Regions from separate parts of the Homo sapiens genome. Here all the other regions are linked to region 5. The links are contacts of gene promoters, found by promoter capture Hi-C in blood cells and fetal thymus (Javierre and others, 2016). All regions are on one chromosome and are shown on one strand. The core of a region is centred on a gene start or on the middle of the fragment in contact, and the rest is flanking DNA. Distances in the headings are between cores, read along the strand shown.

The links. The method cuts DNA at HindIII sites, captures the fragments that hold promoters and counts their contacts. A CHiCAGO score of 5 or more calls a contact.
Region 1: a fragment that was not itself captured here is called in contact with the fragment with the promoter of SDC2 in region 5 in 1 of 17 cell types (neutrophils); the score reaches 5.6 in neutrophils.
Region 2: a contact is called between a fragment that was not itself captured here and the fragment with the promoter of SDC2 in region 5, in 1 of 17 cell types (neutrophils). The highest score is 7.4, in neutrophils.
Region 3: a fragment that was not itself captured here is called in contact with the fragment with the promoter of SDC2 in region 5 in 1 of 17 cell types (neutrophils); the score reaches 5.3 in neutrophils.
Region 4: a contact is called between a fragment that was not itself captured here and the fragment with the promoter of SDC2 in region 5, in 1 of 17 cell types (neutrophils). The highest score is 5.0, in neutrophils.

The regions. Positions count from the first base shown.
Region 1 is chr8:97,152,864-97,158,589 of GRCh38, forward strand. The region is part of intron 2 of LOC101927066 (a long non-coding RNA gene); the gene reads right to left. The region is part of intron 1 of LOC105375655 (a long non-coding RNA gene); the gene reads left to right. Among named protein-coding and RNA genes, the nearest start is that of TSPYL5, 120 kb to the right of the region's middle. The HindIII fragment of the contact is 3,245 bases long and covers 91-3,335 here.
Region 2 is chr8:97,133,930-97,139,188 of GRCh38, forward strand. All of the region lies in intron 7 of CPQ (carboxypeptidase Q), which reads left to right. The region is part of intron 2 of LOC101927066 (a long non-coding RNA gene); the gene reads right to left. Among named protein-coding and RNA genes, the nearest start is that of TSPYL5, 140 kb to the right of the region's middle. The HindIII fragment of the contact is 6,767 bases long and covers 1-5,259 here.
Region 3 is chr8:97,189,763-97,195,096 of GRCh38, forward strand. All of the region lies in intron 2 of LOC101927066 (a long non-coding RNA gene), which reads right to left. Among named protein-coding and RNA genes, the nearest start is that of TSPYL5, 85 kb to the right of the region's middle. The HindIII fragment of the contact is 3,598 bases long and covers 736-4,333 here.
Region 4 is chr8:97,025,845-97,031,162 of GRCh38, forward strand. CPQ (carboxypeptidase Q) reads left to right here. Exons shown (of 8, transcript NM_016134.4): 6 at 3,559-3,650. The region is part of intron 2 of LOC101927066 (a long non-coding RNA gene); the gene reads right to left. Among named protein-coding and RNA genes, the nearest start is that of TSPYL5, 250 kb to the right of the region's middle. The HindIII fragment of the contact is 2,305 bases long and covers 1,873-4,177 here.
Region 5 is chr8:96,490,508-96,495,782 of GRCh38, forward strand. SDC2 (syndecan 2) reads left to right here and starts at 3,306. Exons shown (of 5, transcript NM_002998.4): 1 at 3,306-3,824. The coding sequence starts at 3,765. The HindIII fragment of the contact is 13,490 bases long and covers 1-4,958 here.

The sequences.
Region 1 (5,726 bases), core at 463-2,962, 660 kb after region 5:
AGTGGAAATTGTAAAATTCCCTGTATGGTTTGCCATACTGTCTCTTTCTCCAAGGCAAATGGCAATGTTTCAGATAATGCCTGCTCCACAAGCTTGGATCCAGAGTGATAAGAAGGAATGACAGAGCTTCCAGTTTATTCACAATGGATGTGAAGCATGACTAAGAAATAAATTTCTGTTGTGTTAAGCCACTAATAATTTTGTGGAGGTTTTGTTGCCACAACATAATGTAGCCTATTCTGATTTTTTATCTTGTCTTGCCAGATGTCAAGACTTAACTTATTGTCTTTAAGATGGCATAGCATTAGCAAAACGATAAGTGAGTAGTCCAATGGGACAGACTAGAGTTCAGATCCAGAACCACATATGCAAAAACTTGATTTATGACAGGTTGGTATAGATGATCTGTAAAAAAAAGGTGGACTTTTCAATAAATGTTACAACAGTTATCTATAAGTAAACGTTTAAATTGGACTGCTACCTCATACCTCCTCTGCAGTCTTTTGTTAAGAACAGTTGGAAAACAAGTGGTTGTTTCCCTAATTTAAGGGCACCAAGAACAGTGCCCAGTACATAGTAGGTCCACAATATGTGTCCCCTGATTGAGGAATGTTAGCTGCTTCTATTTTACAGCAAATTCATTTCTCAGTTCCATTCCTCCTTCCTTCCCTTTTTTGAAGTAATGGTGGAGACAAAATGAAAATTTCCATCAAGAAGCCCTGTCAAGAGAGAGCTAGCCTGAGTGCCTTTCCAGGAAAGTCCTGGAATTGTCTTAAGAGAGAAGAAACTCTTAGGAAGGAAATATGGAAACTACCAAAGAGGGAGGTCATTATCACAATTGTGCTTTAGGTGGTATCATTCATATCCTATCTTCACGAAAGGAAACAAGTGGTCAGAAATGGAGATTTGTATTGGAGACACCACTCAGTAACCCACATGAGTAATAATTTCTATCACAGTGGCCCTTGATGACACAAGGAAATATTTTGAGTGATTAATATTGGTCATGTAGCATACAAGATGGTGTCTTTCAGCTCAATCCAAAAGACAGTCAGTCACTCTCAGGTTCATGCGGGATTTAGATATGTAGCATGTCCTGATTCTTTAACCAAGCTCAATGAGGTGAAACTAGAGCAACATTTAGTCTAGGGCTAATTTTGCCCCACTACTAAAGCTCAACCCTTCTAAGTACTCTTGATGCTCTATAGATTATGATGTTTTTTCTCTATGACTGAAGGAACAGGAGTTCCTAGTATTATTTTCTATATTCCTTCCAGATTGTTCGTTCCCCAGTTTCTGATCATTTCCGCAAATGCATGAACTGATCAGTACTCACCTGAAGTTGTGGGAAGGTGGGACCCTCTGCAGCTCCCTGGCCTTCTCTCTGTGTGTGGAACTATCCTCCGTGACACTGTGTCCTGTGAATTCTAGCTGCCTCAGCCTCTCTGGACATTCACATTCCTCTTTTCAACTCATGGTGGTTCCTGGGCTCTGCCTGGGTTTCCCTTCCCCACAGTGTAACTGGAAACTCTATTAAGGAAGTAAGCTAGGGCCATCATAGTGCTCACCTCATTCGTTTTCTGCCTGTTGGGCATCATTGCTCCTCATTTCCTGGTGTCTGGTGTCTTGAACACTGTTATTTAATACATTGTATTCGGATTTTTTAATTGTTTCATGCATAAAGGTAAGTCTGGTCCCTGTTACTCCTACTTGGTTGGAAGTGGGTGTCAGACCACTAATTTTTGTCTGACGAATATACTTATATTCCTTTTACATTTAATGCATTTTGATTCATTTTTTTCACAACTTGATTCCAATCTGTGTATGTAGATTCACATAAATTTTCTGAACTGTCCAAAGTCTGCTCAAATATGCAAGATTGGTTTATCATTAGAATATCAGTTAATTTAATCCATCACATTAACAAATTTAAAAGGGCAAAATTATCCAATCATCTGTAGATGAAGAAAAAGAGTCACATAAAACCTAAAATCCATTTATGGTAAAAATTAAAGACGACATCCTTAACCAGATAAAAAGCATCTACAAAAAAAACTAAAGAAATACAATAATTAACATGAAATGCTGAAAACATTTCTTTTAAGGTAAGAAATAAGCTAAGGGTGTTCACAGTAACTACTTCTATTTGGTAGTACTTGGATGTTCTTGGTATCTATGAATTACCACAGTTCAAGGATAATCTGTAGTTTATCTAGTCATCATTATTGGATTTCAGAGTTATTTTCTAGAAAAGTTATATCCAGTTTTATAATTAGCATTAAAAATTCACAGGCTGACTGATTGCCTCCTTTTTGCTTTCTAAGATGGACATTTATGTCCTATTGGACTAAATTTCTTCCCTTTCCTTCAGTAATAGCAAAGAGTAACTTCTTATAGGAACACTGCCACACCAATGAGCTCCACCTCCCTTTGACTTGGGGCTGCTGTGCTTTCTGCTTATCAGCTCTGAGCAACATCTTAGATTATCCCCATAGATGGTGGAGCCCAGAGTAAGTTAAATTCTGTATTCTCCACTCACTGCTACCACCACCTACCCCAGTCACTCCAGAATTTTAGGTTTCAGAGCAACTTTAGAAGAGAGAAACTCACAAAGTTGTATTATAGTCTCAAAGTTCCACCAGCTGCTGGCAAGATCGTCATTTCCTCCCCCACTGCCTCCTGAGTCACTGTACCATTCTAGTTCCTCCAGGGAACTAGACCCTTTCTCCACCTCCACCTTTGGCATAGGGTTAGGGATTGTACCCCCATTGCCTTATCCTACAAGTGGCTCTGAAGAAATGGATCTTATTCATTCTCTCCGTAAAATTGTCTGTTTGCTTAGCAACAACAACAACAAAAAATTATATGGGGCCAAATGATAACATAAACGGCCCATTTTCTAGCTGGGCCCCTTTACTGCTGCCTTATTAGAGGAGTACGGAGGGTCTGGGTAGGGGCGACAATGTGACTGTGTGCAGGTAGGGGAGTGTGCTGATGAGTGTGGTTATCGATAGCAATAAGAGTAGGGGAGGTATGAAGAAGTATGTGGGAGTTAGAACAAGAGAGGGTGGAAGAAAGATGATATAGTTTGGATGTTTGTCCCCTCCAGACCTCATGTTGAGATGTAATCCCCAATGCTGGAAGTGGGGCCTGGCATGAGGTATTCGGGTCATGAGAGCAGATCCCTCATGAATGGCTTGGTGCTATCCTCACAATAGTGAGTTTCCACAATATCTGGTTGTTTAAAGGTGTGTGGCACTTATCCCATCTCTCTCTTGCTCCTACACTTGCCATGTGAGACATCTGCTCCCCTTTCCCCTTCCACCATGATTATAAGCTTCCTGAGGTCCTCATCAGAAGCAGATTCTAGCGCCATGCTTCTTGTACAGTCTGCAGAACCATGAGCCAATTAAACCTCTTTTCTTTATGAATTACCCAGTCTTAGGTATTCCTTTGTAGCAAAGCAAAAAGCCTAATACAAGAGTGGTCTGTAGAATTATTTTCCTCTCATGAAAACTCTACCTGCACATCATAATTGCTAGGGTGTACCAGGCAATCTTGCAGCCTGGCACAAGCTATTGAGTAACTATCGCTATAGGCATTTTTAAGTACGATTCTCTTGTTTTCCATAAATTTAAAAAGAACTGTTTATCTGCTGAGAAATGGTATATCATTTGTGTGGTGGCCTATTTTCTATGCATGCAGCCACCTTCCAATTTGACTTTAGGGTCAAGTTGCTTTTCTGATTCATTTAGCTGAGTAGACTTAAGAGCAAATTGAGAAGAGAAACCCATTTAAATATTGTATCATGTGAAAAGGGTGAAATCTGTCACTGAAAAAAAAGGAGGAAGCTAGAGGGAAAGGAGGTCGATTGCTGATTTTGCCCTTGACATTGTTAAGATGTGGTTTTGAGGGTTCTGCTGTGTCTGTGGATAATTTGGAGTTTATGTTCCCCAGAGTGTTCCACCCTCCTCACAATAATTACAGTAATGACACCAAGAGCGTCTTAAAAATTCTCATGCATCTACACTGCATACATTACATTGCCACACACAGTCCTATTTGCTCAGTATGCTCCTTTCATAATAATTTAAGATGCTTCTCATTTACGTTGAGTAAATATCAAACGGATCTTGATATCTATATCTGTCTCATGAAATATACATCCTCTCTAACTGTGCCCAAATGATTAATTTACAGCTATGTGATGATTAGCATAAAAAGCTCATCACAACAAGAGATAGAAATGTTATCACTAATTGCTATTTGAAGTGAAGAATGTTTTCTGCGTAGAAATTAATGATGCATGCTTACTTCTCAATTCTCTGTTAAACCAGAAAACCCAAGACTGTTTTTGGAGAAGAAAGAAATTACCTTTGAAGTTGTGTGGGGTTTTTTCGTCTCCCTTAGATGACCCACAGTTAACCAAAGGAATTGTGGAAGGCAATGGCTAATGAAGTTCCATGCATAAATTAGACAGATGTACTCAGCCCTTATCAAATCAAGTCTTGCTATCAATCCATGACTGAACTATTCAACTGCAGGCAAAGACATTTTCCCCTGGGCATGAGAGCCTCCCTGTAGCCTTGAAACTTGTCTCATAAATATTCTTATGTTTACAGCATATCCTAAGAGTGTCCAGGTTCTTCACAGAACCTGACGGTCTTAATATCATTGGTGATTATTCTGGGCCTGCTCAAGCAGCCACACAACTACCTATGAGTTGGATGGTACCTCAGAAAGCCTTGCTTTATTTTCCAGATTTAAAGAACATTGAGCTGTGACTTAGATTTTGACAATAAAGTCACGCCCTGGTCCAGTTAGTTATCTTAATTCTAAGTACCAGCCAGTCCATCCCAGAGATTGCAATGGAACATGAATTTTCCCCAAGCTAAGCTTGTCTCTGAGATTCTGCCTTGCCATCCAAATCATCATCATCATTATCAGTAATACCTATCCTGGGCCAATCATGCCGCTAAAAACTTAATGCGCATTTTCTCAGTTAATGCTCACCCAATGCAATGAGGTAGGTCCTATTTTAATCCCCATTTTAGAGTTGAAGATTCCTGGGTATAGAGCTTGTAAGTAACTTTTCCAAGATCACAGAACTGACCAAATTTGACTAAAATCTAGATGATTCAAAACTGTTTATCTTCCTCAAACATACTTCTCTGAATAGTGAGCCTTCTAATGTTCCCAGAGTGAATATATCCAATCTAACCGGTGCATTTTCATTTTAAGGAATAGAAAGTGGGGTTTGAACAGTGCCATGCTTCAGCCCACGAAAGAGGGGACCCCTGCCCTGAGCCCTGTGCTTTAGAGGATCCCATGTATCACAAAAACACACCAACAGTAAATTTACTGAAGGATATATGGATGCTTCTATCACCAGGGATCTGACACTCAGGGCTGGCACAGCGTGACTCTGCATGACTCAAAGTGTTCACCTCCAAGCTAATGCCATTTAGGCCCCAAAGAAAGGTGGTTCTCAGGTCCTGCCTTGGAGGGAAGACTGTGTCTGAATGTTGTGAAGACAGACACTGCTTTAGAGCATGAATATTTGAGGAACAAAAGTATTCAAGAAGAAAAGACAAATTCATCAACTTGTCAAATCTTTCCTCTCAGGGAGCATAAAATCAATAGGTTCTCACATAAGGGAGTATTGTTTCCCAGAAGTGAAGAGCATCTATTCTTTGGATTCTTGTTATGCTCCAATTCGTGGTTCC
Region 2 (5,259 bases), core at 845-3,344, 640 kb after region 5:
GGTGAAAGGTATAAGAACATACTGAGTTCTACATAATAGTGTTTGGATCTCAACTTGTATACTGCTATATGTTCACATGGTTTTGGTAAGGAGAACTGACTTGTCATTCTCCAAGGCAGAAGCTGAGAGTAGAACTCCCAGAAAGTGGGATTTACTTACCATAAGTTGCTGTAGAAAAGGAGGATGGAGTCAATCTTTATTTCTGCTTTTGTCCCACTACATGTTAAGAATTTTTTCATTTACCCATTCAGTGATTCAACAAATATCTGTTAAGCATCCACTAAGTGCCAGGCATTGAGGATTGGGGTGAAAAAGCCCCTGCTCTTAAGGAGCTTACATTCTAGCAGAAAAGACAGACAACAATAATAAAACCATGATAATATTGTTTCAACTGGTAGATAGTGCTATGAAAAAGAAAAAGAAGCAGCAGCATGAAGGTAAGGGAGATAATGAGTGACCACATGGAGGGGTGGACTTTAGACTGAACGATCAGGGAGTCCCAGGAGGACTGGCAGGCCTGCAGAGTGTGGCCCGGCCACAGCGATGGGCTTGGTGTCAGGTAGGGCTGCCATTCATCTTCTGCCCACTGTATGAATGTAATTCAAGTCTTTACTCTATTTCATGGTCCAGGATACCTCCGACCCAAGTTTCCATCTCTTTGTCATAAAGTAGAATAGGGGTGGGAGATCAGAGCTGCAAATGAAGCAAGTCATGCAAATGGTTTCCCACTGGAGAAAAGGCACATTTTTTCCCGAGATAGGGCAGTGAAGAAGGTACAGAGCATGGATTTCAGATCAGAGACACCTGGGTTTGAATTCTATTTCTACCACTTACTACTGTATGACATCAGACAAGTTACTAAAATCTATTTTCCATCTGTTAAAGACACATGAAGATCTCTCCCTCATAGGGCCAATTCAATGAAATCATCTCCAGAAAGCCCTCAGTACACAGAAAGCACTCAACAAGCAGTGACTATTATTCTTGTAATTCCCCTATTTGGGGAGTCTGTAGCATCATCTTCATGTAGTACTGATTAACTAGTCTTAGTTATTGCTGCCACACAGTTTTACCACCTTACAGAGATGACTCATTATCACACAGTTCAGATACTGTGGGACCTGCAAGTCCACCAGAGGTGTTGGTGTTGACCTAAACTATTTGGTCAAAATTATGCCCATAGCCAAGCCAAGGTTTCCAAAGAGATAGAAGGTACATGGGCTTAGTGGCGCACCTAAAACTTTTTAGCCCAAGTTTGGAGATTCTTGGGTAGCTTGAGAGTTAGAAACTAAAAGTAGAATACTTTTAATGGATTTGTGATTGAGGATTTTTTTTGTTTTTACTTTCTGGTCCTGTCCTGTCCTTTGTTTTCCTTTCATTTTTTCCCCCTCTTATGAGTTGAGTTGCTTTCTCTTCTAGGGAGCTATGTGTTAGGAAGCTGCTAATGAACTGCTTTTGAGTCTAATTTTCAATAAGATTTAATACAGTAGGGATTAAACTGCCCCCTTGAAAAGAGAGATTAAGTGTCTGCAAATCCCATGAATTGATTTTCTAATTGTTTTGGTAATAATGTGTATGTGTTTTTCATTTGCTAATGTTGCTGAAAATAATAATAATTTTAATTAAATTTTAAATGTATTTTTAGTATTTTAAGGATTCTAGAGGGACTAAGTTTTCTTGCAAGGAATATGTTAAGACCATAACATTCTTCCCTCACCCCATAATTATTATGATCAGGGAATATCTATAATATATTCCATGGCAATTAAATTGCATACCCCAGACTGTTCAAGATGTGTTTATAAAAGGAGAAATGGATTTCCCACAGCTGCTCGCCTGTGAATGCATCCTTCACACAGAACCACAGTAGCCAGTATATGCACTAAAATAACAGACTTGAATTTAAACTTTCAGTGCTTTCAAACGTCTTTCAAAAACTTCTCATAACACAAATTGCTTAATTTGTGTACATGAAAACTCACTGATTACATATGAATGAGAGTCAACCTATAATAATGGTGACTTTGAGAATCTTTGTGTATGTGCCCACCCATCTCTTCAGGAATTAGCAGGTATTCAGTCTTGTTCCAACATTCTGCACAAGCCACAGTCATTAGTGAGAGCACCCTGTGAAGGCTGAAATCTGCTGTGAACAGTATGGGGCAGCTCAGGTATTTTTTATAATATTCATCAGATGGTCTTCACCCAGTCACGTAGCTGGAAAATGTTTTCTGTGAGATGAGTGTTTACAAAAAAAAAAGATTCATAGAGAAGGAGCAAGGGAAGGAGGAAGAGGGAAAATAATCCAAACCAGGGTCAAGGCAGTCATATAGACTAGAATCACAGACCAGGTGTTCCGTCTTTAAAAAGCGATCGTCACAACTTTGATTTATTAAATTGGAATTTAAATCTTCCAAGCTGTAATGAATTGATCATGATACTGTTGATATAGATTGGCTCATCTTTGTGGCTGTATAACAACTATAATAAAGAATTAATTGAGTACCTATTAATCCTCACAAGCATCTTGGAAGTTGGATATCATTAGCCCTGTTTGCTGATTGAGGAAACTAAAGTTGAATGGCTTTACATCATTCTTTCAAAGTCACCCAGGTTTTAAGCAGAAGAATTTGAATTTGAACCCAGCCCTACCTGCCTCTAAACCCCATATTCTCTCAGCTGTATCTCCCTCCTAGGTGCAATGGCTCCTTGGCTGACATGCTGAAGGATATGTCTTCACATTCTTAAACTCCAAACCTCCCTTGGAAATAATTTCCTAACAGTGAAACTGCCCTAATAATGCTGTAGTTTGTTTCCAGGGGAGAATATTTGCCTTCAGAGCAGGCTCCTTCTGCCAGCTTTCCATTTCATAAATGCATTTTATGACTCCCTCTTCAGAGCTCATATACCTGTCAGAAGATCCTATGCAATTTATCCCTGGGGATAGTTAACATTCCCCCTGACCCACCCACCCTGCAATGTCAGGTGCTCTCAGAAATGGAAGTGCAGGATCTCCCTCAGTGCCCATCTTTTAGATCAGTAGCTGTCACTGATAAAATGTCTCCTTGGAACTACAGAGACAAAGTTGCAAGCCAGCCAGCGGGCCCACCCTGGTATCTCCTGCAGTTATCAGCATTCTCACTAGTGATTGATAGAACACGTTTTGGAGTTGTTTTAGTTTTGTAGAATGTTCATGGGAACTTAGATGATATCTGAGGAAATGCCTTCTTCAAGTCACTAGTTCTAAAGGAAGGCAGCCAAATTCCTTCAGTCTGAGAATTTTGGAGCTCTGAAGAGGGCATGGACAAATATTTCTTGCCTCTCTTTTTTAAATATGGAATTTGGAGGCTTTGTCTGTCGACCACCATGCCGTGTCTTTAAGAAGCTCTGACTGGGAAGGAAACAGCCCCAAGTGTTCCAAGCTCTGTCTGCTGGAATTAAATGTCCCTTCCTGTTTCCTGACATCCACAATTCTAATTCATCCTCCATTCACCCTCAGTGACTTCTGTTCTTTGAAGGTTTTGACTCTGTCCTTGTACATGAATTTGACATTCACCTGATACTCTGTGGGGTCCAGAGAGCATGTACTCCCCACCAGCTTCAACTAACTCTAAAATGTCACAGTTTCTGTTAAAGTGCTTTCTAGCTACTACCAGAGTAAACATACAGATTTGTCTCCCCTGGGTGTGCTGTGAGTTCATGGCATAAAGTATTTTCTGGTTTTAAAATGGACTTCTGGCCTGTAATCCCAGCACTTTGGGAGGCCGAGGCGGGCGGATCATGAGGTCAGGAAATCGAGACCATCGTGGTTAACACGGTGAAACTCCTTCTCTACTAAAAATACAAAAAATTAGCTGGGCGTGGTGGCAGGCGCCTGTAGTCCCGGGAGGCGGAGCTTGCAGTGAGCCAAGTTCACGCCACTGCACTCCAGCCTGGGCGAAGAGCAAGACTCCGTCTCAAAAAAAAAAAAGGACTTCTGGCTTTTCTACTGGGAAATGTGGTTATCTGTGCCTTCTGGAGGTCAAGATGTCATCATCTGGCCCTGGTCCCTCTCACTTCTCCTCAGACTGGACCTCTTCTCCAGCTGTTTACTCACCTTCGTAGTTGTTCACACAATTTCTCCTTCATGTTTTTTGGAGCATCTCCCTAAGGTGCATCTCTAGTCACCCCACCTTCTCATTCATCCTCCCAACCACCATGGCTCCACATTTATGAACTACATTCAGTCTATTTTCAGCCTGACATTTAGGACCTTCCACAGGTAGTTGCCAACTTTATCTGCCAATAATTAGCCCAAGTTACCCCCCAGTGTCAACCAAACTGGAACGCTCACATGTTCTGTTCATCTGGAATACCTGTGCCTATATCTGTCTGTTGACATCCTAAGTACTCCACCCCAGAGCAAGGGGTTTATGGGAGTAGATAGGGGAAAACTCTGGTACAAAGTTGTAAGAACGTGGGTTGGGCTTGGAGAAAATCTAGATGGCATCCTGGGGCAATGGAGGGCTCAAGAACAATGGCAATGTCCAGTCCACAAGACAGGAGGTAGGGGATTTGAAGAGGGAAATCCTAGCAATGTGGTTACCAGAAACACATAGAAACATACCTCCCCTTCCCTAAAATAGTTATTGGATATAATAATAATTGCCTTTTAATAATACATGACTTAGCAAGAGGCAAAATAAGGGAATTCCTCAGAGGTGAGAAATAATAGAAATAATGAAAATCTATAGAAGTAAGAAAACCCTGGGGCCTGGCATTTGTCTGCTAATCCCTGTTTGCCTAGAGCATGGGTTTTAATGAGCAGTGGGTGCATCTAGGACAAGTACAAAACTTGGGGCCACTAGTGTACTTTATAAGATATTGATTAACTTTAGACTTATTAAGATGAATATGTAACCTATAATTTCCAAGGTCTCCACTGACAGAATTGAAATAAAGCATGTAGCTTCCAAACTATAGAGTTGGAGGGAAAAGGAATGAGAGAAGGGAAAAAAATCAACCCAAAAGAAGGCAAGAAAGAAAGAAAAAAAAGAAACCTAGAAAACATAATAAACAGATAGAAGCAAAAAAATTCAACTCTAAACTATTCATAAGAGAAACTCCTAAAAGTATGAGATAGAGAAAGGCTGCCAGTAAAACGATGGGAAAGGACATACCAGGGTAATACTCTGCAAAAAGAACTAGGTGTGCCTATCTTAATTATTAGGAAAAACTGGACTTCCAGAACAAAAAGCAACATTACAGATGAGTTTTCAA
Region 3 (5,334 bases), core at 1,285-3,784, 700 kb after region 5:
CATTTACATCACAATGCCTACATCATTCACCTCACTTCATCTCATCACGTAGGCATTTTATCATCTCACATCATCATAAGAAGGGCGAATACTGTACAATAAGATATTTTGAGAGAAAGACTACATTCACATAACTTTTATTATAGTATATTTTTATACTTGTTCTATTTTATTATTAGTTATTATTGTTAATCTCTTACTGTGCCTAATTTATAAATTAACCTTTATCATGTATAGGTATCTATAGAAAAAAACATTTTATATATATATATATATATATATATATATATATATATATATATATATATATATGTATAGGATTCTGTACTCTCTGCAGGTTTCAGGCATTCACCAGGGAACGTATCACCCATAGATAAGGGGGCTGCCATATTTGCACTTGGATTCTTGCCTCAGGGTCTGCTTCTGGGAGAAATGTGAGCTGGAACATCCTCCTGTCATCTCTGGCACTCCCTGTGTTCCCCACATGCCCATGGGCATGAGCCTTGGAGCAAACTTTCCTATCTACTATTATGGCTTCATACCTTGAAATCTGCTCACTTTGGTAATAATGGGAGAAAGCAGATAGGGCCCAGCATTTCCTTGCTGTTCGTTGTCAGCCAAGATTGTTCGCTCCTGTTTGCTTATTATCTCATTTTTACACCCTACTTTAGCTTCTCCCACAATAAACACACACAGGCTTCCTTCTAGAAGCTATCCCAATGTTGGTCTATGGTAAGCTTCAAGTTTTTCTTGCTATTTTGCTTCTTTCTCATTTTTTAACCCATCTCTCTCTCTCTCTGTTTAAAAGAGATTGGTTCACGACCTCTGGAACAATTCAAACCCATCACGTGACCTCCTTCTTCTACTCCCAAGCCAAGTGCAGGCAAATGGCTCTCCTAAGGAATCTTCAGTCATCACTTGCCCCCATTGCAACTCTGTCAAATCAGAAACTGACCTTCCTGAGTCAGCCCCTTTCAAAGCTATTATTATTTATCTTTCTGGTCTCCAAATGCCCTCAATCTAGTTGACATCATTTTAATGCAGACAGGCTTGAACTATACCCAGGGTGGCTCGGCATCCATTGACTTGCATCCTGTCATTTCCAGCAGTGACAGGACCCCTAAGTCAGCTTTGCCCCGAAGTGAGGTCGATGACCTCAGTAATTATTGCTTCACTCCTGGGTGTCTCTCGCTGTGTGTGGCCATTAATTCCTGGCTGATAGTAATGCTTGTTCAGTGTGATTTAAAAAACAAAACCTAATACAAATAACTATTCCTGTTGCTGGTAATTGGATCAAACTTCCTCAATGTTATCCCTAACAGAACCCAACTCTCTGGAGAAACCCTTGATTGGGATTTGGAAGATTGAAAGGTCAGTGTTCAACTCTGTCCCTACCTCTCCAGGTCTTCCTTTTTGCCTATCCCATAAGTTTCTAAATGACTTTGAGGTTGGTGGGTGCGGGGAAGCCATGAAGGTCAATGCAAATCTCCTGGGCTTTGAAATCCTGACATCCGGGTTATATCTCAGTTCTATCATTTGCTCGGCATGTGGCCCCTAAACAAGTTAACCACCACTCTGAGCCTCAGTTTCCTCAAGTGTAAAATAGGAAAGATAAAATCTACCTGCACATTAAAAGTGACACAGTGTATCTAATTCATGGGTCAATTATGGAGAGGAGTGTGTTGAAATATTTCACTATGATGGTGGATTGGTTGATTTCTTCTTGAAGTTCTGATAATGTATACGGAGAACTTAGCACAGGGCAGGCATGGTCGGCACTAAATAAACACACACATTTAACCGGCGGAAAGCTAACGTAGGGTGATAGATACAACATTTTATTTTTCACAGCCATAAAAAAGAAAGAAATCATGTCCTTTGCAGCAACATGGATGCAGCTGGAGGCCATTATCCTAAGCGAATTAACACAGGAACAGAAAACCAAATATTGCATATTCTGACTTACAAGCGGGAGCTAAACACTGGGTACTCGTGGACATAAAGTTGGCAACAATAGACAGTGGGGACTACTAAAGGGAAGAGGCGGAAGGAGGGAAAGGCAGAAAAACTAACTGCAGGGTACTATGCTCAGTACCAGGATGATAGATCATTCGTACTTCAAACCTCGGCATCATGCAATACACCCATGTAACAAACCAGCACGTGTACCTCGTGAATCTAAAATAAAAGTTGAAAAAAAGTCATATGTGCTATGTTTGAATTCCAGCTTATGCATCTATTAGCTGTGTGAGCTTTGAAAAAAAAAAAAAAAACACTTAAATGAGTACTAGTTCTTCATTTGTAGAATGGTGGTAACAATTCTAGATATATGGTGGGCATTCAGCATTTCCTATTTTTCCTGTATTTCTTTTCAACTACTTCAAAGTTGAGGTAGTCAATAGTGTGGACTCAGTATAATCGATTAGGGCGAAATGTGTTTGTCATTTGTTGTTGCTTTGTTATTATTTTGCCCCATGTCTTCTAATGTTAAACTTTCCAATTAAACAAAATATGGCAAAGCCTGAGACCACGCTTAGTTAACAAAAAGGTAAAATCTAAAGGTCTTACTGTCCTGTATGCCCCAGGTGGGGATTAAGCCACATATAAAAGTGTGAACCTTATCTCCTAAGATTCAATAAATGTATTTTATTTTGTTAGAAAGCAATTTCCTTCAGGCTTAGGTCAGAATTTCTCTGAAATAAAATGGCAACATATCACTACTTTGTCACAATTCTCAGTAAATCATTAGAGCTGTGAAAAATAAATTTCATTTTTAACAAAACATCTTTCTAGATCAGGGTCAGCAAACTATATGGCCCGTGGGCTAAATCTAGTACACTGCCTATTTTTGTATTTTTTACATTTTAAAATGTCCTTTTAGAAAAATTAAAAGAAGAAGAATATTTTACAACACAAGAAAATGATGTGAAATTCACATTTCTGTGCCCATAAATAAAATTTTATTGGAACTCAGCCACACCTATTCATTTATGTATTATCTTTGACTGCCTTCATGCTACGAGAATCGAATAGTTGCAGCAGAGACCATATGGGCCACAAAGCCTAAAATATTTTCTACCTGGCCCTTTATATAAAAAGTTTTCCATCTTCTGATCTAGATTCGAGATCGATGGTTTATTTAAACTATGTTAACTCTAAAAAACTGCCTCCAAGTTACCTCAAGTAAGAGGGATTTATCATCAGGCTCCAGGTTTCCACAGAAAGAGCTGGGGCAATCCTAGAGCAAGGTGCTGGCGTGCAGTAGGCTGCCGTCCTTGAGCGGATGCCTCACTGACAGCGACGGAGTTCCAGCCATGCTGCACTTGCTCCAGCCACTGACTTAGAGACAGCAACCTGTACAGGCACCAAGCAAAAGAAGAAATCTGGAGATCTCAATGAGACCAGGAAAATCTCTCTTCAATATTTCAAACCTTTCAAAAGCCAGGTTGGTTTTCATTTCCTTATCTTCCTACTGTTGACTGAGTTCTAGCTACGAGGTGCTGTGCTGAACACTTAGATCCATTGTGTCCTTGACTCTTCTTAAGAGTTCTGTGAGGTCAGTGTGATTATCTCCATTTGACGGCTGAATAATCTGAGACTGAGAGAAATTAAACAATATGTCTGCTTTCGTTTGTCCCCTCCAAAACTCATGTTGAAGTTTGATTCTCAGTGTGGCAGTATTGGGAGGTGGGGGCTAGTGGAGATGTTTGGATCATGGGGGCAGATTTCTCATGAATAGATTAGGGCCCTTCTTCTGGGCTGAGTTCTCGCTCTCAGGAATGGATTAGTTCTGGAGAGAGCAGGTTGCTAAGAAGAATCTGGCTTCTTCAGTCAGCGCTCTTGCTTCCTATCTCTCCATGTGATCTCTGCACAGACCCACTGCCCTTCTACTTTCCACCATGAGTTGAAGCAGCCTGATGCCCTCAGCAGATGCAGCTGCCCAATCTTGAACCTTCCAGCCACCAAAATTATAAGCCAAATAAATCTTTTCTGTATAAACTACCCAGTCTCAAGTATTCTGTTATAGCAACACCAAACAAAGTAAGACAATGTCCAAGGCCACCCACCTACAAAGTGTGGATTTGAGGTTTTAAACTCAATTTTTCTGACTTCAAGAGCCCCTGGTTCTACTCATTATACTCTACTATCTCATCTATGCATTTTTTTTCTAAGAAATGGAAAGCAAAAGCATGTACATTTTAAAATAAAGTCTGAGCTCTTGTCTGTTTTTCACTTTATTAAGGCTATGGAGTTGGGTACAAATCCATCACTGTGGGATCCCAGATGCAGTTAGTTGATTATACCTGAAAGGTGTAATAACTTGCTTAAATGAAGCTTCATTCATAACCACCAGTGTTCACTCTATCTCCCGAGATGTCCAGTGATTAATTTCTCACACACTCGGGATTTGGAAACTTAAACGTGAAAGTGAGTGGCTCGGCAACCCTCCAAACTGGACTATGATGTGACTTTTCCCCTGGAGGTGCCACCACTATTGTGAAAAGCATCACTAAGACTCAATCTCCATGTAGGAATATAGTCCATTTGGATTGCATAAGAAACACACAGTCTAGGATGCAGGGGTGTCCTGGATGTCCATTTGGTGCAGACTCCTGTGCAGTCCCCCTGAGAACTCAGGAACTTAGCCTGTTGCAGAACATATGATGGGCCCCAGGGAGAGGGCAGAGGGATCTTCCCAACATCCCTCAAAAGATCTGAAAGGAGACATTGAGTTTTATAAAGAATGATTGTCTTCAGGTAGCAACTAAAAGCTAAATTTTGCGTCCCCAGGAGATCCTGATAAGGATTCTGTCTTAAAATCCTAAAAGCTGTCTTTTGGCAGAAATGCTCCAAGCAATATTTTTTTAAGTTTCAAGTGTAAAATATGAGTGGCATATGTATGCTCATTTATATTAATGTTATAAAACTCATCAAACATAAAAAGATGAAGTATATGACCAGTATTAGCAATGGGCCTAATCTATTTTTTAAAGAAGGAGAATACAATATATGTCTAACACAAATATCAAAAATAGACCCCCCAAAACCCTGTAAAATAACTAACTAGCACAAATGGTTACAGGATGCTGATCTATGCCCAGTGGCCAATGTGAGGTGCAATCACAGATCAGGTTGGGGATAAACAGTTTATGTCAGTGAGGCTGCTTTGGGTGTCTGGGAAATAGACCAAGCTGACAGAGGGCAGAGGACTCTATGGAAGGAAGGCCCTGGGGATCTAGAGTCAGGAAAATCAAGAATGAAAGCATAAATGACAGAAAAGAAAAAGCACCTCCCATCCTCCTGTCAATGGTAGATGGCAGACTGGGTCATGCA
Region 4 (5,318 bases), core at 1,775-4,274, 540 kb after region 5:
GATGTCCTTACATCAATTGTCTTCAGATTTCGGATATATTTAGCCTTTTGACTTTATCCAAAAACTAAACATTCTGATTGGCCCTCATTTTAAAAGGGAAGAACCTGTTTCTATTTATTTAGATTTGTATATGCTCTATATTGGGATGAGGGAGCTTTTTGTACTGAAAGAAGTTATGTATTTTCCTACAGGTTAGATAAAATCTGTGTTTTCCCTTGGCTAGGTTTATGCATGCTGTATAAACAAAGGTGTTCTGGGGCTCCTAAGGAAGCGGTCTGAGGACCATGTGTCTCACCTAGTTCTCCCACATGCTCTCCCTGGTGACTGTTGGCACTGACCAGAAAGGTCTAGAGTGGTGGAGAGAGAAGCTAATAAACAATTCTTGAAAACCTACTATGTGCCAGGACTATGCTTGATATACATTTGCTTTGTTTTATTTAACTTTCATAACAATCCCAGCAGGCAATTACCATTTTCCTTATTATATAGATGAAGAGATTAGGTATTATAATTAATCTAATCTCACAGAGCCAGAAGTGGCAGAGCCAGGAGTAAAACACAGCTCAGACTCCACAGCCAATGCCTTTCTGTACCCTACACCGTCCATCATGGATTTAGGTAGCCTGGGGACCTGAACTCCCCACTAGGTTTAAGGTCTAATTCTTGAATGAAACCTCACGCATTTCTCTTAGGTTCAGGGACAATCAGATTGTCAGAGTAGAAAGAGACTTTGGATTCAACATTTGCTAACCCACTGGCTTCCTAACTTCTTCCTAAGGCCTTCACTCTGTGAAGTAGGTGCTAGGGTTCCCTGCTAATGAGTACTAAGCTTCTCAAGGGCTTGAGCAGGCTTGTTAGTCTTTTTAGGGCCAGCTGTGCACCAACTATGCTGTTGTTGTGTTGAGGCCTTAGCATTCCTCACTTCAAATCAATTACTTCTTTATTACCTTAATACATCACTGGCCATGTGGCTGATTTGGAATGTAAAGGAGACTAACCCTGTAGGATAATAACTTTCACTTGGCACACAAAATCTATACGGATATTCAGAGCATTTGCTTTTAAAAAATGAATATTCTGTAGCCTGTGCTGCCTGTTTATTCTTATTTAGAGAATTTCGTCATTTTAATAATTTGGTAATATTTTACTGGTAGGTGCGGAGATATGTAAAAAAAAGTGTATTTTTTTCTTTTCTTGTGGATTTAAAAAATGTTTAGAATTTTTATTTGCAGCCTATAAACAATAATAGTACTTTATCCTTTCTTATTTTTGCCTATATTACAAGCAAGTAATTTCATTTAAATTGACTTTAAGCACATTCCTTTGAAAGAAACCGAAGATTGTTATCTTTGGCAATCCTGATTAGATTTCTTCCTCAGACAACAGTTTATTAAGTTTGTGCTATGAATGTGGGCAGGTGGTTTGACTCGGTGGAGCAAGTAGTGGGCACTCTAGAATTCTTTTTCTCCAAGTACTCAAAGGCCTTTGGAAGAATTTCCTCTCTGAGCATTTAGATGTTCCTTCTACTCTGTGAGGTGAAAGTGTGTTATGTGGTTTTATTTTTCACTTATTGAATGCCAATTACATGCCAGCCCCAGGGTTGTCTTACATGTGTTATCATATCTCATTTAATCTGAAAAAGGATTATGGCATAGGCACATAATATTATCTTCATCTTTCAGATAAAGAGGCATAAGTTCAGGTAAATACATATCCCAGTAGTTACACAGCTAGTGCCTAATGATAGCAGGATTTACCAGATCTGTCTGCCTTTTTCAAATATAACACCTTGCCTGGGAATGAGCTAGCAGAAGACTTTTAGAAGATGAGACTGGAGAAGTGGCTTCAAATTTCATTCTAATCAAGACACTAAGCTTTGCATTTATTTATTCCTTCATTACCATTTATTGGGCACCTAATGTGTGTCAAACAATCTAGGAATTGGCGACATTACAATGAATAAAAAGCATAGATCCCTGTCTTCCAGAAGTTTACTTCTGGTTATTGGAGGTTTTGAGCCAAGAAATGACATGATCTGGCTTAGCTTTTACAAAGACCCTCCTGGCTACAGTGTGAAGCATCACCTGAAGAGAGGTGAGGGCTTCAGCAGCAAGCCCAGTTAGGAGGCCACTGCAGCAATCCAGACAACTGCGGGGCTTGGACCACAGTAGTGGCCAAGATGAGAATTTGGATTTTATATGGACTTAGATGGAAACACCAATGGGATTGCTGAGGAACTGAATGTAGAAATTGCTTGTCCATGTTTTAACTGCAACTATGGTCAGCCTGCATCCTAAACCTATGCTTTTTAAGTTATGTTAACATGCTGAAGTACAAAGTGACTTCACAACTATATTCAATTTCATGAAAAACTGTAGCTCCTCCTTTTCAGCTCCTTAGGCTTAGGAAAGGAGAGTGCCTCTTGGAGCCTGGAAGAGGCAGGAGAGAGCTCTGTGTCCCAGAAGCATTTGTCATCCAGGCTGCAGTTAGCCAGCTGGCTCCTTCAAAAGCCACACACCTGGGTGGCAGCACATATGTGGTTATACCTGAGATATGTGGTGTGTCCATCTCAGAGCCACTCAAAGTCCATTTTAACCCTTCCCTATGGCTCCCCATGAGGAGGTGGGAAAACGAATCCTCTTAATAAGATTTAAGCACAGCTTCACATTTTTCTGTCTTTGTTATTTCTCAGAAATGCCATTATCAGTCTGAGTCAGAACAGATATTAATTCTTGGTCACAAAGTAGCACTTTTGGCATACTCTCACCATTTTTTTAACTTCAGAAACAGCTTCCTTGTAGGTAACTTTCACTGAGCTGACATTGTCAGCCAAAAATGGTTCTGGAGCCACTTCATCTGCCATAAAATTTAATAAGTCCAGGATACAAATTTGTGTATCACAAGTCAATAAAATTGCCACCAAGCTGTTTGTGTAGTAATAAGGTCAATAAATGTCATCCTCATTCAATTAATTTTCATTGACCTTAAGGAAATGACCTTCTATTTCCAAGTAGGAGAAGAAATTGGCCATGGAGAAGCATAACTGTTGCATCTGCTTTTCAGTTATTACATTACTGAAGATAGCATGGGCATCTAGCTATGCTTGTATATTCAGACTAAAAAGTAATCTACATGGCTTATCCTGAAGTAGACCCAAATGATTTAATTACAATTAAGATCATTGAAAGACCCCACAATATGCTTGGGGTCATCCTAACTGCATCTTCCAGATATGATCTAATATCTCACTGATCTTGGCCATCCATTGGGTTCTGCTGGGCAGGATATCAAGTTAAGGATGTGATGAGAGGCTCTCACTTTCTGGCCTGCAAACTGCATTTGTCACAACCCCTTTCTCCATTAACCTGGCCTGGAGATCAGCCCTGAAGTTGCTCCTTTGCTGTGCTGGCCATACCCTGAAGGAGACAACCACACCAGTGAGAGTTGAATGCCTCTGATTTCCTCCTTCCTCCACAAGGCAGATGAGGGACCCTGCCATTTTTTTATAAAATTCAAAATCAACTAAAGTATCACTTTTTTATTTTATTATTTTCCCAGGGCTGCGTCCAAAGAGGACTCTGCGGCTGGTGCTCTGGACTGCAGAAGAACAAGGTGGAGTTGGTGCCTTCCAGTATTATCAGTTACACAAGGTAAAAACCCAGCTGTGGATTGCTAAGCATTTGTACATGTAATATACAAAAATCCCTCTCATTGTCCATTTAAGACTTCAATAATACTTTCTGGTCAACTGGCCCTAGGAAACACCCTTGTATGAGCCTTCTCCCTCCAGCCCTGTGAATGAGAATGCACTGGTAAACCAATGATGCTGTGGTGTAGAGCTGAGGGCTTTTCTTCTTCTACACCACAGTCTGAGGCCAAAGAAAAATTCCAATTGCCATGCTGCCATTTTTTTCAAGTCTACCTAGTTCTGCTGTATTCATGTATGTCAGAGAAATAGTTATAGGCAAACATTCCCTCTCCCCACCGAGCCTATCCCCATACCTCAATGCCCGCCATATTCCCAGAAGCCTTGGCATTTGAGAGCCAGGTTCCAAGTCATTGAGTCTGCCAAGAGCATTGCCATGATGGTGGTGGAAATGGCAGCAGCCACAGGCCTCTGTCCCAGGAATGTGGAGGACAGCTTGGTTTGACACCAGCTGTCATTACACAAGTGTGAAGCTTGAAGCAGGAAGGTTATTGTGGATGGTCATGATTAGAAATACAAGACCACATGGAAGAGAGGGGATAGGGAGATTAATATCAAGAGCAAATTTTGAGACAGCAAAATATACAAGCTGAGAAATACTCTAGATCAAGTCAAATGTTAGTTCAAAGAGGAACTCCAAAATCAACGCGCATATGCTGGCAAGCAGTGATGGTTGCCCAGAGAGGAGCATTTGGTCTGCTGCTGCTGCTGGATGGTTTCCCCTGAATGTCCAGATGAGAAGAAGCAGATCTTGCAAGCTTAAATTATCCAAATCGGAGAAGGGTTTCTTTTGTGAATTGTGTGTATGTTATTTTTGACCTTTTTTTTTTTTCAAAGTCAGTCTCTATTACCCTATTTCAGTCAGTTAGAGTATAATGAGTTCAAAGTCATGAATTTGGTCACTGAATACAATTATTTACTGTACAAAGGACAACTTATGACCTATGCCCTACTCTTTCACCACTTTAGTTCTTTTGGCCTCAGGTGATCCTGGGGATAACATAATTCAAGACAAGTGTCCTTTGGTTGGTAGGTCAGTAACATCATTTTCTATGTGTTGTGGTAGACCACAACATCATATAAGGGTTGTTCTAGATTCAGCAACATTCAATTAATATTTTCTGAACATGTACTATGTTCCATACACTATGTTATGCATTAATGTTAGCATCAAAAAGATCTACCCTGACCTTACAAAGCCTACATTCTAAAGGACACTGACGATTAACTTGAATTATAAGGTGTTAAGTCTTTCTGGGAAAGAAATTACATCTAAGCTGAGACCTGAAGACTGAGTGGAAGTAAGCTAAGGAAAATGGAGAGGGAGGGAGGAGGTGGGTACTGCACCTTGGCAGAGGGACCTGTGTGTGCAAAGGCAGGAGATGAGACAGAGGAAAGCACACCAGAGAAATGGAAAGGAATTCAGAGTGGCTGCTGCATAGAATGCAAGATGCACAGTGGTAGGAGGGTGGAACAGAGACGTAAACAAGAGCCTGAACAAGAAGAACATATGAATCATATTTAGACGTGCGGACTTTATCCTCGAGGCAAGAGAGTAACTTATTTTTAAGAAGAAGCTCTAAAATTCTATACATATTGGACTTTATATAAA
Region 5 (5,275 bases), core at 2,056-4,555:
CTACCAAATTGATTTCTAGCCTGGACTCCTGGTAACAGTCCAGGGGGTGCCAAGTGGAAGAACAACCGAGAACAACAGAATGGCATCTTTTTTTTCCGCTATCCCCTACTCTGACAACTCACCTCAGGACAGAACACCTGTTTATCCACGGTTGTAATGTGGTATCATTTGTTACCGTAGTGACAGAGTCCGATGTGTCAGTTTAGGTTAAAAACTGTCTTTAGTAGCTTTCATTTCTATTTTTTCACTTGTCTGGTTCTCTTTATTTTTTATTTGTTTTTACATGTTTGCATCTTAATCTCTATGTTGTTTATTTTTAATATTTTCTCCTGAGACTCTTGAAGTGTGGTAATTATTCTTTTAGCAATCAATGAAGCTATTTGGGAAGTGATTGGTTAAGCTGTGCCCCTCAAAGCATAGCCCTCAAAACCTGAGGACTTGAAGTATATTTGCAAAGAACCTTTGGTTCTAGTCACAAGCTATACTTAGTGAATTAGATATACTACACAAAATTCTGCCAAATTTTAGTCCCCATCAGTTTTTTAAACATTTCCAATTAGCAAAACACACAAACAGGCCTACATCGTTTGCGAATTTAGACAAATCCTGACTAATACCAGCGGACCTCCCCTGACTTCTGTCCCCATCCCCACTCAGCATGGGTGACCTCTTTGTAGCCAGCTCTTGTGTAAGTGCTTTTTATACTGTCAGATTATCCTTCTTGCCACAGCTGTTAATAAATCTGAACACAAGATCTTGAATATTTGTTTTCATCTCCTTAATATTGTGTCACTCAAAATGGTACCAATTCCCTTATTATATATACTCTCAATGGAGTATTTATCATCTTTAAAGAAACAAGTCACTGAGCATCTCATCAACACCAAGAGCCTTGGGGTGTGCCTTCAGGGCAGCAAACAGATAATATCCCTTCAACACGTGTATCCACTTATTCATTTTTTATCACTGTCTGCCCAAGCTGAATCAGAGAGCATTCACCACGCTTCTTGTTACATGGGTGCCCCAGTAAACAGCAATAACTGTGAGAACCAGCAAATCAGTGGAGTGCACTTCCTGTTTTACTGGAATTCCAATTTATTTGATGAATACTTAACTGTTGGGGACAATGGAGGTGTGGCCTTGCCTGAAGGCTGGCGAGTAGACGAGGCCTCTTATGAGGACAGAGCTGGTATTTTATGGCTCTTTGCATGTATTTTGCATTGCTGCTTTTCCTTTGGAGGCCTTTTTAAGAAGTCTCCCCATCTCATGAACCTCTTCAACCCACAGACTCCATCTTAAAAATAAGGGCACTAGGCTGGTGGCTCACGTGTCTAATCCCAGGACTTTGGGAGGCTGAGGCAGGCAGATCACTTGAGCCCAAGAGTTTGAGACCAGCCTGGGCAACAATGGAAAACCCTGTCTCTATAAAAAACACAAAAATTAGCTGGTGTGGTGGCCTGTGCCTGTAGTCCCAGCTACTTGGTAAGCTGAGGTGGGAGGACTGCTTGAGCCTGAGAGGTAGAGGCTACAGTGCAGGCCACTGCACTCCAGCCTGGGCAAGAATGAGACCCTGTCTCAAAAAAAAAAAAAAAAAAAAAAAAGGCTGTGGTTCATTCTTTCAAAAGCTAAGTGGAGCCCACATTGGCACAGATGCCAGCTACAGTGTCTGTGGAATCAGAAGCATCATCTGATGTTACAACTTCTGGCCTATTGCTCTTTTTCTTCTTTCTCCTTTGCCTACTCTTCTATTTCTCCATATTACCTTTTTGTTGGCCAATGCCTTAGACTTGCTCATGAGCATTTGTAGGTTTGGTAGCTGGCACACAAAACCAAAGGAATAAGTGTCTCCAAGTTTGAGTTGTAATTCTCCAGTTAAATTTCTTTCTTTGAGATTTATTACAGTAATAGGTTACTAAGACATTTAATTCTCACTGAGGGTATGACTGTATTTTATTCTAATACTGAGTTGAAAAATTACCATGGCCTCATATCTATATATCTACATTGGTGTATTTTAAAGGCTCACAACTCTTATACGGTATAAATTGAGCTTTAGAGCAAAATTTATTCAAGATAATATTTATCATGTGTCTTTATGTACCAGGAATGAGAATACAATGGTGAACAGACAGAAAAGTCTCTGGTTTCCTGTAGTGGGCATTCCAGGAGCAGAATGGCGTCATAATTCATTTACTCTATAAGTCAGAGAGAAAAATGATGGCACGAACTGCAAGGGATTTGTGTGTAAAATTTGTGACAGTAAGAAAAAGAAACTGGAAGGGAATACGCATTTGCCATGTTCTATAATATGCCACAGACATTGTAACAAAATATTTCATGTCAGCTACTTCCATTTAGGAAATACATGTTCATTATTTTCTTCAAACTAAGAATTACTTTATCCCTCTTTTCTTTGAAGTTATCTTAAATCTGTTATTATTCAGGGTCTCTATCCAACTTCTCATCAAATTACCCTATTTGTAGCTTCCAAACGTTAACACCTATCTGCTAAAATGGAGCCTATAAAAAGCCTTAGTGGCATAAACTGTGTGTGAGGGAGAAATGGTATTTAAGCCCTTAATGAAGTTAGGAGCTTTCAAACTGTTGCACTTTGGGTTTACAGGATCCTTCCTCCATGTCCCTTTTTTGGGGGTGCGGAAGGATTTGGGAGAATGGGAAACACTCTCACTATATATTTATTACATTAATTATCTTCTCTTTTAAAATGCAATTTTCATGAACTGGCGATTTATGAACACTTCACATTGCTTGAAAGCATCTTACACTTTTTTTTTCCCTCAACTCACAAAGCAGTTTCTTTCTACTGGTCGAATTCTCAAGGCAGAAAAGCTACATACGTCTCTCGTTTCTTCACTAATTGTTCTCTAGAAAAGGGAAAGTGAAGAAGGGAAAGAGAAAAGACAACGGGGAAGAAAAGAGCATAGAGGAGAGAGGAAAAGTGGGGAGAGAAAGGAAGAAAAGGACTGAGAAAACGCAGGAGCCCTGGCTTGCCGGTGAGCAGAGCCGGCGCAGCCACAGCGCGGAGCCGCGGCGCCCACTGGTCCTCGGAGCTGCCAATCGGCGTGTAATCCTGTAGGAATTTCTCCCGGGTTTATCTGGGAGTCACACTGCCGCCTCCTCTCCCCAGTCGCCCAGGGGAGCCCGGAGAAGCAGGCTCAGGAGGGAGGGAGCCAGAGGAAAAGAAGAGGAGGAGAAGGAGGAGGACCCGGGGAGGGAGGCGCGGCGCGGGAGGAGGAGGGGCGCAGCCGCGGAGCCAGTGGCCCCGCTTGGACGCGCTGCTCTCCAGATACCCCCGGAGCTCCAGCCGCGCGGATCGCGCGCTCCCGCCGCTCTGCCCCTAAACTTCTGCCGTAGCTCCCTTTCAAGCCAGCGAATTTATTCCTTAAAACCAGAAACTGAACCTCGGCACGGGAAAGGAGTCCGCGGAGGAGCAAAACCACAGCAGAGCAAGAAGAGCTTCAGAGAGCAGCCTTCCCGGAGCACCAACTCCGTGTCGGGAGTGCAGAAACCAACAAGTGAGAGGGCGCCGCGTTCCCGGGGCGCAGCTGCGGGCGGCGGGAGCAGGCGCAGGAGGAGGAAGCGAGCGCCCCCGAGCCCCGAGCCCGAGTCCCCGAGCCTGAGCCGCAATCGCTGCGGTACTCTGCTCCGGATTCGTGTGCGCGGGCTGCGCCGAGCGCTGGGCAGGAGGCTTCGTTTTGCCCTGGTTGCAAGCAGCGGCTGGGAGCAGCCGGTCCCTGGGGAATATGCGGCGCGCGTGGATCCTGCTCACCTTGGGCTTGGTGGCCTGCGTGTCGGCGGAGTCGGTGAGTGGGCCAGGCGGAGGATGCGCGCGCCGTTTAGGGTGTTTGAAGCTACGAGAGGAGCCCGCAGGGAATAGGGGAGCGCCACCTGGGGAACCCCCAGTCCCCAAGTATACACCGGAGATCCGCTGGGACAAATGCGCTCGTCCGGTCACCCTTTCCCCCTCTTCCCTTCCTCAGAAAAGCGCTGCTCGCTGGCGTTACCCCGCGGTCCGCGGGAATGGGGGCACCGAGAATTGCGGTTTGGTCTAGCCGCAGAGGCCCCTGAAGTCACTCCCAACTTCTTCGCCCTCGGCGGGTCTTGCTGCGTGGTCTGGGAAGGACGGAGGGGAAAGGGTGGCAGGAGGGGGGAGCCTGGGTCGGGCCCGCGAGGGAACGGCTCCACTCCGCGCGCTCCTCGAGACCAGGGATGACCTGGAAACTTCGGGGTCCCTTCCTCCGCACACCATCCCCCCCGCGCCAGCTTTCCTGTTTGACTGCATGCAAGTTCTGGGGAGATGGGGGCCAGATTTAAGAGACCCGCGAGTGTCCAGAGAGAAAAGTTTGCAAAAGTTCTTTTGTTTGATGCTCCCTGCGGCTAGGGCGAGGTAACCGACACTACGTGGAATCGCAGTAGGCGATCCCTCAAGGGGATACTGGGGGAGGCACGGAACGCGTCCGAAAATGCTGGGACGCCGGCCACTGGATTCCCAGTCCTGCGGCGACCCCCTCCTCGTTGAGGGGTGGAGGTTGCACCGCGGGGCGTCAGGGACGGGAGGACATTTTCATAGGAGTTACACGGGAGTGCCGCAAGCAGGGCGAGGCGGGGTACGTGTGACACGGCGCTCGGCTTCGGGTCGCCTGGCCGCTGGGGGACAGAGGCTTCCCTCCCGCCACGCTCGCCCTCTCTGGCCCTGGCGGGGCGCTTCTGGGGCCGGGAGGAGTCTCGTCTCCGGCGGAGCGCCTGCCGGCACCCAGCTTCCCTCCCCCGCCCTGGCGGTGGGAACTTGATTTCTCCTTTTGGTCGCGCTTCGGGGGCTGGAGCTTGTTTCCCCACGTCGCCCAATGAGCGCCCTCTAAAGGGAACTGCCTCCTTGGCCTCCTCTCGTCCGCAGCTGCCTCCACCTGGGCGCCAGGAGCTCTGTCGGGCCAGGTGGAAGCTTGAGCACCCCAGATTTCGTCTGCAGCCTCAGTGCCCTCTGGGGTCTCAGGGAGTGCGGCTGTTTCTGGCCCTTCTGGTTCCCCACGTCCTCTCCCTTTGCCATTTAATAACGTGTCAATTTCTAATTAATTGAATGGTCTTTTCAAAGACAAATTATATCATCTTAAGGTCTTTTAGGTAGTTTTATGAGTTTGAGTCTCCCTCCCCCCCTTTTTTGTGCTGAGGCTAATTTAGGACTGGGAAACCTCTTTGGCATCGAGCGGCAGATGGACATTTTTAATCAGTGTGGGAGCCTCTGTGTGTGCTAGCAGAT